2 separate regions of the Homo sapiens genome follow, and region 2 is linked to region 1. Evidence: promoter capture Hi-C in 16 types of primary human blood cells and fetal thymus (Javierre and others, 2016). All regions are on one chromosome and are shown on one strand. Each heading gives the region's core, a stretch centred on a gene start or on the middle of the fragment in contact. The rest is flanking DNA. Distances are from core to core; before and after follow the strand shown. Region 1 holds the start of CAPRIN1 (cell cycle associated protein 1). Region 2 overlaps CAT (catalase).

What was found. The method cuts DNA at HindIII sites, captures the fragments that hold promoters and counts their contacts. A CHiCAGO score of 5 or more calls a contact.
Region 2: a contact is called between a fragment that was not itself captured here and the fragment with the promoter of CAPRIN1 in region 1, in 2 of 17 cell types (monocytes and fetal thymus). The highest score is 5.4, in monocytes.

Annotation. Positions count from the first base shown.
Region 1 is chr11:34,049,290-34,053,678 of GRCh38, reverse strand. CAPRIN1 (cell cycle associated protein 1) reads right to left here and starts at 1,948. Exons shown (of 19, transcript NM_005898.5): 1 at 1,808-1,948; 2 at 1,043-1,258. The coding sequence starts at 1,258. LOC101929918 (a long non-coding RNA gene) reads left to right here and starts at 352. Exons shown (of 3, transcript XR_931177.3): 1 at 352-1,360; 2 at 2,646-3,008. RefSeq lists enhancers at 75-354, 385-454, 525-594, 665-734 and silencers at 1,345-1,644, 1,685-2,234, 2,094-2,293. The HindIII fragment of the contact is 10,606 bases long and covers 1-4,389 here.
Region 2 is chr11:34,461,580-34,466,015 of GRCh38, reverse strand. CAT (catalase) reads right to left here. Exons shown (of 13, transcript NM_001752.4): 10 at 1,781-1,911. Among named protein-coding and RNA genes, the nearest start is that of CAT, 25 kb to the right of the region's middle. The HindIII fragment of the contact is 2,751 bases long and covers 75-2,825 here.

The DNA of each region.
Region 1 (4,389 bases), core at 699-3,198:
GATATACCTCAGTAGTTTGATCTACAAGGACTAAATATTGAATCCAAAAAATCGTGGGTGTGGCTCGATTTTTTTTTTTTTTAGAGGGGGGCCTAAGGAGGCCAGTCGGGGCGGCTGCCTGGTCTCTGCCCTCCCCCTCTGCTTTCGCTTTGTGCTCACAATGCAGCTCCAGTAAAGCGCTTCCCTCTCCCCGCAGCCGCCGCCATGTTAGACGCTCTCTCCATGTGCCCCGAGTCCCAGCCATCCTCTCCAGTCTCCCCAGGACCCAGCCCCCAACGAATCTAAATCGTGGCAGTCCCCCGCCCCTTCACAGTCCCCTAGGAACAAAAAGTCGCTGCAGAAAATCATCTCGCGATTGAGCTGAGCCTGAGGCTCGGGGGGACACCTAAACAATTGAAACAAAGAGGGAAACGCAGGGGAGCCCATCGCATGGGCGCGGGGGTAGCAAATCGAAGACCCATTCAAAATGGGCCTGCCGGAAAGGCAGTTCTACCTTAAGATTCTAAACACACTTCTCTCCTACGGAAGAAGAGGGGACGCTCGACAGGTCTCGAGTGCATGGTAACCGAGCGGACAGACCCCAAGGCTGCAGGACGCAGGCCGCCCCAACTCCACGAGGCGGTCGGTTGAACCCGGAGCCCCCCGCGCAGGGACCTCTTCATTTTGGGCCCTCGTCAGAGAAATCGGGCCTCAGAGACGGAAAGAAGGGCACCATACAGTGAAGTCCTGACGACAGGCCCCCACCCTCACATGTCCCACTCCTAAAGGCCAAAAAGCCGGACCCACAGCGGAAGAGTAATAAAGAGGCCTGGGGTACAGTGCCGCGTCCGAGTCAGGTGACAAGTGCCTCTTCCAAGAGCCCGTTTTCTGGGCACGAAGCTCCCGCTGAACGTGGAGACGGGGCGTGTGGGCCAGGGGGTGGGAGGAGGGGACCTAGTAACGCTCCCGAGACGAAAAGAAGCGAAGGCTCCAGCGACCAGGGTCGGAGGGGCCGCAGAGCCCGGCCGCAGCCACCCCTCCCTTCCCCGCCAACTCCTGGCACCTTTTTCTTCTCCAGGTTCCGAAGTTTCTTGTCGATCACCCCGAGAATCTGCTTCATGGCCTCGGTCTGGACAGCGCCGGTGCCGGTTGCGGGGTGCTGAGAAGCCGGCGCGGCGGCCCCGGCTCCCGCGGCCGCCTCACTCCCGGAGGAACCCGACGGCGGTGGCGGTCCGGACGACTTGCTGCCGCTCCCGCTGTGGCTGGTGGCCGAGGGCATCTTCAGACCGCAAGGAGAGAGAAGAAAAAGCGGGAGGAAGGACAAGAGCGGCCAGTCAGGAGACGGACGGGGCGAGACGCGGGACAAAACGCGCAGCGAGCGGTAGCCTACGCGAGCGGGTGGGGGAGGGGGCGCGGCGCGCCTCGAGGGCAGGAAGAGTGCGCGGGCGCGCGCGCGACCCGCCAGCGGGGCGCCCGGCTGGGCCTCGCACCGCCCCCCGACCCGCCCCTCCCCCGCGGAGCCGCCGGCTCGGCCTACCAGCCCGGGGGCTCCGAGGCTCGCGCCGGAGGCGGGGCATCGCCGCGCCGGCCGCCAACGGCCACTGCAACGGTCCCTACCGGGGAGGGCCGGCTTTTGCCGGCTTCCGGAGAAGGGAGGAAAGAGAGAGGTCGGGGCTTGGGGGCAGAGAAGGGCATGGGAAATGACCGGGGTGGGGTGGGGGGACTTGGGGGCAAGCCCCTCGGAAGCTCCAGCGGGTCCGGAGATAAAGGACACCCGGGCGCAGCGGCCCTCTTCCCCTGCAGCGGCTCGGTCCCGGGTGGCGCTCACCGTGCGCGCGCGGAGGCCGCTGGAAATCACGAGTGGGCAGCTGAGGGGGCAAGGGTGGTGGTCCCTTCCGGGCAGTGTCGCGCGCTCCGTGGGCGCAGGCCGCTTCGCCCTGTCCCGCTGCACCGAGAGCCGCTCCTAGTGAGGCGAGAGCCGGGAGCGGGAGGGACTTAGCCAGCCAGCAGCCCTCTGGGTCGCGAGGGGCGGGAGAAGCGGAGAGCGGGGGCCTTCGCGGCCGCTCGGGCTGCCCGGCGCGAACGCCTGCCCGGAAGAGGCCGCCCGCTAGCTTCTCCGCCGTCCCCCGGCCCCGGCGCTGTGGGGCGCCTCCTGGACGCAGGTGGGGATGGCCCCGGCAAGGCCGAAGGAAAGGCCCCTTGAGTTTTGAGAGCAATCGACGCTAGGGTCCTTCAGGCGAAATCGTTTGACGCCCAAACGGGGACAATAGGTGTCAAGCAGCTGGCTCTGGAGCTGGCAACTGCCCCTTGAAGAGCCCTTATTTGGGGTGGGGGTGGGGGTTGGGGGGCAAAGGTTTCTGCAAGTAAGGGGTGCGTGGGGTGGGTGGTGCGATCCCAGCTTCTAGAATTCCTTCTGTATGCAGAGCGAGCAAACTCCATACCCCAAAACGTCTTTTGAAAAAAAGACAACTCGCCGCTTCCCCACCAAACAATCACCCAGTAACCTAGGAGTTCTCTGTAGAACGTGTCGGACACGGTCATGGTTGGTGGCTTTTTAAATCCTAAAGCTCTGGCCTCACAAAGAGTCTTCAGCTACCCTATGATGTTATACATCCAGTAGGCCTGAGTATTACGAATTATTAGACTTTTGTTTCCTTTTTTTTTAGGTTTACCTAACACTGTAAAGAGAACGTTCAATGAAATACAAAGAAAAAGATGATTTTTTTGCTCCAAGAGAATTATTCCAGCCTTGGGGTGGAGTGGGTGTGGACAGTGAGCAGAAAAACAAGAAACCAAGTTCTGGGAGGAAATAAAATGAATATAATCAGTGGAAAATTCAGCAACGCAATATTGTGTGACAACAGTAAATGACCAATTTATAATTTAAATTCTATGAAAAAGAGATTTAGAAGAGAGTTCTACCAAACCCACTGTTCCCTAGGGAATAAAATGAGTAACGCTGACTGGCAACAGTGCATCCTGAGGGAGCCTGGAGAAACAACAGCAGCCTCCGACCTCAAGATATCCTGGTTAGCTGCAAAGTCTGTTATATATTCATTCAAATATTTATTAAGCACCTTACTGTGTGCTGGGAACTCTTAAGTGCTAGGGATTATGAACAAAACATATTTACATGGAGCTTACAATCTAAGTAAGGGGAAGACAAGTAAATACATGTCAGATAGTGAAATGGTAGAGAAAAGAAAAAACGGTGGTCAGGGAAAGCCTTACTGACATTTGAGCTAGTACTGAAGGAAGTGAGGAAGAAGGCTAAGCAGCTACCTTGGAGGAGGAATTTTCCAGGTAGAGGAAACACCAAGTACTAAGATCTGAGACGGAGTGTGCTTTTTGGGTTCAAGGAACAGCACGGAAACCATAGTGGCAAGAGCAGAGAGTAGGAGATGAGGTCAAACATATTAAAGGGGGCTGGTCTTGTAGGGCCTGAAAGACCACGGTAAGGACTTTGGCTTTTGCTGCATTAGATGGGGAGTCATAGTTTCAAAATTTAGTCACCTAAACCATCCTTAGCACTACGCTGAGCAATTATGCCAGGCCTAGAGGCTAGAAACGGAGATGATAATCCTTTAGCTCCTTGCAACTCAAAGTTTATTCAGCCCAACCTCTCTCACTACCACTATCACTACTATCTTGGACTGCATAGCAGACTTAACTGAATCTACATTTTAACAAGATCTTCAGGAGATTTGTGTGTACATTAAAGTTTCAGAAATCACTGTTTTGTTCCTCGGAATTGACCAATGTCTAAAGTTTTATTGGGAGACATCCAATCCATCTATGCACATCCATTCTATGACTGCCTCTCTGCCATAGCACAGCAGAGTTGAGTACTTGGGTGTGCAACAGACAGTAGGGTGTGCAAAACCTAGAATACTATCTCTTCTTTTACAAAAAAAGTGTTTGCCAATCCCTGGTTTAAAACTACAAAGGGGCCAGGTGAAGGGGCTCATGCCTGTAATTCCAACACTTTGGGAAGCCAAGGCTGGCAGATCACTTGAGGTCAGGAGTTCGAGACCAGCCTGGCCAATATGGCAAATCCTGTCTCTACTAAAAATACAAAAAAATTTGCTGGGTGTGGTGGCGCATGCCTGTAATTACAGCTGCTCAGGAGGTTGAGGCACGAGAACCCGGGAGGCAGAGGCTGCAGTGAGCCAAGATTGTGCCACTGCATTCCAGCCTAAGCAACAGAGTGAGACTGTCTCAAAAAACAAAAAACAACTGCAAATGGTACACATCCATCACAGTTCAACAGAGGGCCCTGTTCGTAGTAGTCACTCAGTAGATTCATGCTGATGCCATATCTCAAGTGTTGCTGATCACTGTACCACAAGAGAACTCAGGAATATCTCAGTCAATTAAATGCTTTAGACAAGTAGATATGCATCACATCTG
Region 2 (4,436 bases), core at 201-2,700, 410 kb before region 1:
CACCACTCAGCTTCTGGACCAGTGCTTACAAATTAACAAATACCTTAAGAGGAAAGGAAACCAAATGTCAAGCTTACTTCACTGCACTTTTTTTTCCTGCACTTCTTTTCCATCTTTGATCTTGGTCCCTTAAATCCTTGTTGCTTTGTTAGCTCTCCAAAGCCTTCAAACAAGTGCTTTATGTATTTTACCTACCTTTTCAATGTTCTCCATGAAACGGTAAGTAAGATACAAGCTAGTCTGCCATAGACAGATGCAAGCCCAAGTGAATCATTTTTAAGAGAATAAATCTGGACCTTCTTATGTATTTCCCATGTGATACATCATCACAGAATTATGCTATGAATCTATAACAATAGTATTGTGATTACTTAAAAACCACACTATATCCTATATAGTGATAAGAAATTCTCTCAATAAGAATGAGCACATAATAAATTTTCATGTGTAAGCAATAGCCTCATTAATTTTTGCAGGGGTTGTATGAGCTGGTTTAATACCTGTATTGACCTCACATAGGCAAAATTCTTTGAGAGGCAGGGAATGTACTGTAATATACTTGGTGTCATCTGCATCACCAAAAATAATGCAGTTACATAAAAGGTATGCAGGAAATGTTTTAAGCTCATCTAAAAATGGTTTATATCCCACAATAATGTAATTTCTTTTTTATATATACGTATATATGTATATACGTAAATGCTTTTCAAGCAAAGATATCCTCACAGCGAATTAATTCATGTATAAGTATTTTTTACTTGGAACCCACATTCACAAACTGAGAAACTAGAAATAGGTTCTAATCTAATTTAAATACTAAGTTTAACACTAACTGCTCAAACAGAGCTCTAGAACAACTATACCTTTAACTTTATTATTTTATTGTGTGTGGTATAAGTTGCACTGGACACATTAAGGAGGCAGCTGCCCACCTACAGCCCTTCCAAGTCCAAGGGCCTCCTTCATAGCATGTGCTGAAACAGCTCTTAGGGCAGCCATAGGCAACTGGAAAGAGGATGAGCATTTGCCCTGGGGCGGTTAACTAGAGCCTGACCAAGGCCAATGGTGCAACCTGGGGTGAAAAGATTAGCCAAGTCAATAGGATTCCATCTCTCTAGAATCTAGAGATAGACATGTTGAGAGAAGGAGTAAAAGGTGGTCCAAAAAAAAAAAGTAATAATGGAGAAAGACGCCATAAAGGAGAGTTTTCCATTGTTGTGGAAGAGCCACAACCATGATAAAACAGAAGCTCTGACGCAGATAGGAGAAAACAGGAAGCTGTGGTAAAAATAATCAATTAGCATTGGCAAGCAGAAGCAGACAGATGGAGAATAAGCCACGTGAAGGACGAGCCCTGCAGTGGAAACGCCCACACTCTTGTGGCCGAGGCTCCTGGAGCTATTTTGGATCTCTAGTTCTAGTCCTTGAACCTGGACTGTCCTGCCCAGATTCTTAGATTTGTCTCCACGTAAGCTGTACATGCTCATTTCTTAAATTCCCATGAGATAACTGTTTCCCCAATGCCCCCTCCCCATATCCCTTCAATAAAGTTTGAAGAAACTGAGACGGAGTCTGCATGCTTTGAGGCAAAAGACCAGAGTAATATAACCCTTCAACTCCACCCAGTAAGGGGCCCAATTTACTATTACAGATGAGTCTTCCTTGAATTCAATTTAAGATACATCAGACAGTTGGGGCATTTGCAGGGAGGGGGATTATGCAGGCATTGACAAGGAGAATTAGCAGGTGACTTCCATAGCAGATAAAGAGAAGTCATTACCTGAGTAACGTTATCATCATTGGCAGTGTTGAATCTCCGCACTTCTCCAGAATATTGGATGCTGTGCTCCAGGGCAGAAGGCTGTTGTTCCGGAGCACCAAAGCTGTTGGGGTAGTAATTTGGAGCACCACCTTCAAAACAAAACCACCCAGATGCACTTAGGAATAAGAAAAGTCAAGTAAGTCTGCAAATAATCACTGTGATGAGAAATAAATTCAAGTGGTAATCAAATACACACGTACACATACACAGATATAAACACAACGCACACATATTATTTTTAATTTCCCGCATTTAGCTACAGGTAGTATGAAGATTCTTAGGGAACGCTGCCATCTGCTAAATGCTTGCACAGGCTGCCGCACTTTATGAATGAATCTCAAAGTCCCTTTTGACACTTCAAAGGGTCTCATCTATCAAGTCTTCTGAGGGGTACAGCACATGTAGAAGTTTATACAGGCTTGATTTGGCCACCATATAGGGATGAGGCTCAAAGACACATTTCAAAATTGACTTGAAAAATTGTGTCATTTGGACTTGGGCTCAATTCAAACACTGCATCACAAAATTCTTGAGGGAAATCTGAAAGTTCTGGTTCTGCTCCTTGAATCTACAGACACAAGCATGGAGCTCTGTGATGGGACCTGACTGCTGCAAGGTCACACGGTAGCCAGTGGTAGATATGGGGTTGGAACTCTGGGTTTTTTGTCTCCTCCAGCCCAGCATATACAGTATTTCCATTACAGAACTCTACTTTGCTATTCCGTAAAGTGTTTTTAGGATTCTCAGGGTATCTCTCCTTTACTGACAATGATGACTTTGTTCCATTGTAGCTTCACTTTCATACCCTCCACAGACCAATAAACAAAGAATTTTTTAAAATGTGGTAATTGTATATCAGCACTTACTTATCTGGACTTATAAGAAACAGTGACAAATACAATCAAAATATTTTCTATGACTTTTGAAATAAATTATAAGGCTTTTTTTTCGTTTTAGCATATTTATTTTCTCAACTATGCTTTGGCTGACATTAGCAGAAGCTTTCATTACCCGAGCACACACTGCCTAAACAGGAGTGGCCCAGAAACATATTAAGTGGTTTGAGCAAACCAATCTGGGGTTGGAATTTTAGCCAGCTCACTGCCGTAATAGATTATCCACAGTGGATAATCAAGAGGTGCCTATGTATGACATTCATCAAGACACCAAGTGTGTGTGTAGGGGAAGGAAGAACACCATACTATTATAGAGCCCAATTATTCACTCAACAAATTCAACAGATCAGTCACATCTACATGAAAAGCAAAATGCTCCAAAAACCAGCCATCACAGTGTTTTCTTCATTAAGAACTAGCTCTTTGAAATGTGCCTAGTTAATTTTTAAAATCCTACTTCCAAATGAGCCCTGACCTTTACTCAAAGTGGTAGTTGTCTTTAAAGCACTGACCACAGGAACAATTAAGCTCTTTCACTGAGCTTCAGGGTCACAGCCCAAATGCTCTACTTTTACAATCAAGCCAGGCGCGGTGGCTCATGCCTGTAATCTCAGCACTTTGGGGGGCCAAAGTGGGTGGGTCACCTGAGGTCAAGAGTTCAGGACCAGCCTGGCCAATGAAACCCTGTCTCTACTAAAAATACAAAAATTAGCTGGCGTGGTGGCACACTCCTATACTTCCAGCTACTCGGGAGGCTGAGGCATGAGAATCTCTTGAACCCAGAGGCAGAGGCTGCAGTGAGCCAAGATCATGCACTGCACTCCAGCCTGGGCAACAGAGTGAGACTCTGTCTAAAAAATAAATAAATAGATAAATAAATATAGCAAAATGTAATAGCTATGACCTTTGGGTGTTGGGACTATATGGGAATTTTTCTTTTTTCTTCTTTTTCCTATATATTCCAAATTTTCTTTAGGACACTTGTATTATTTTTATCATAGAAAAATAAACTTTGTTTGAATATAGACATCTGTGGCTATAAATATAAATCATCAGTAAAATTTCTAAAGGGATCAATGCATGCAGTCTATATTACTAAAACACGTGTCCTAAATGGGAAAAGAAAATAACTAAGATCTATATTAAACTGTGGAATAGTAAAAGGAAAAAACTTTAATCAAGCATTCTGCTTGACTTATTAGAAAAAGTAATTAGAACCAGAGGCTGTTTGTATACGACACCAAAAAAAAAGTAGTTAAAAGAAAAAGATCCTAAGTTTGATAAATGAGTTCCAAAAAACAAAAAGTGGTAAGTTGATTCACCTAACTTTATTCACTTAGGAAAAAATGAAGGGAGGGGAATCCTTTGACTTGCTCTGCCTCCCCTACTCTCTTCTCCCCAGCCTTCCCTGCTAATTCTAGCTCCCCTCCAAATTCTAGCTAGACCTGCTCCTCCAGGGCCACAGCAGAACTGCAAAGAGAAACAGAAGACTCCAACTCTTGGCTTTCGCACTTCCAAGGGTCTAAGTCTTGGTGATTTCACAGTGAGTTAAGGAATTGTCCATTTTGGTGAAGTGTCTTCAAAACCTAACTCCCAAGCTGGATGTTACTGTACTCTAGCCAGTGTGAAAGATCTTTCTCCCTGCTTTTAACTACTGGATACAAGTAACATCTGAGGTGGAAATGCTCAATAAAATATATAAAATAGATAAAAAGCAT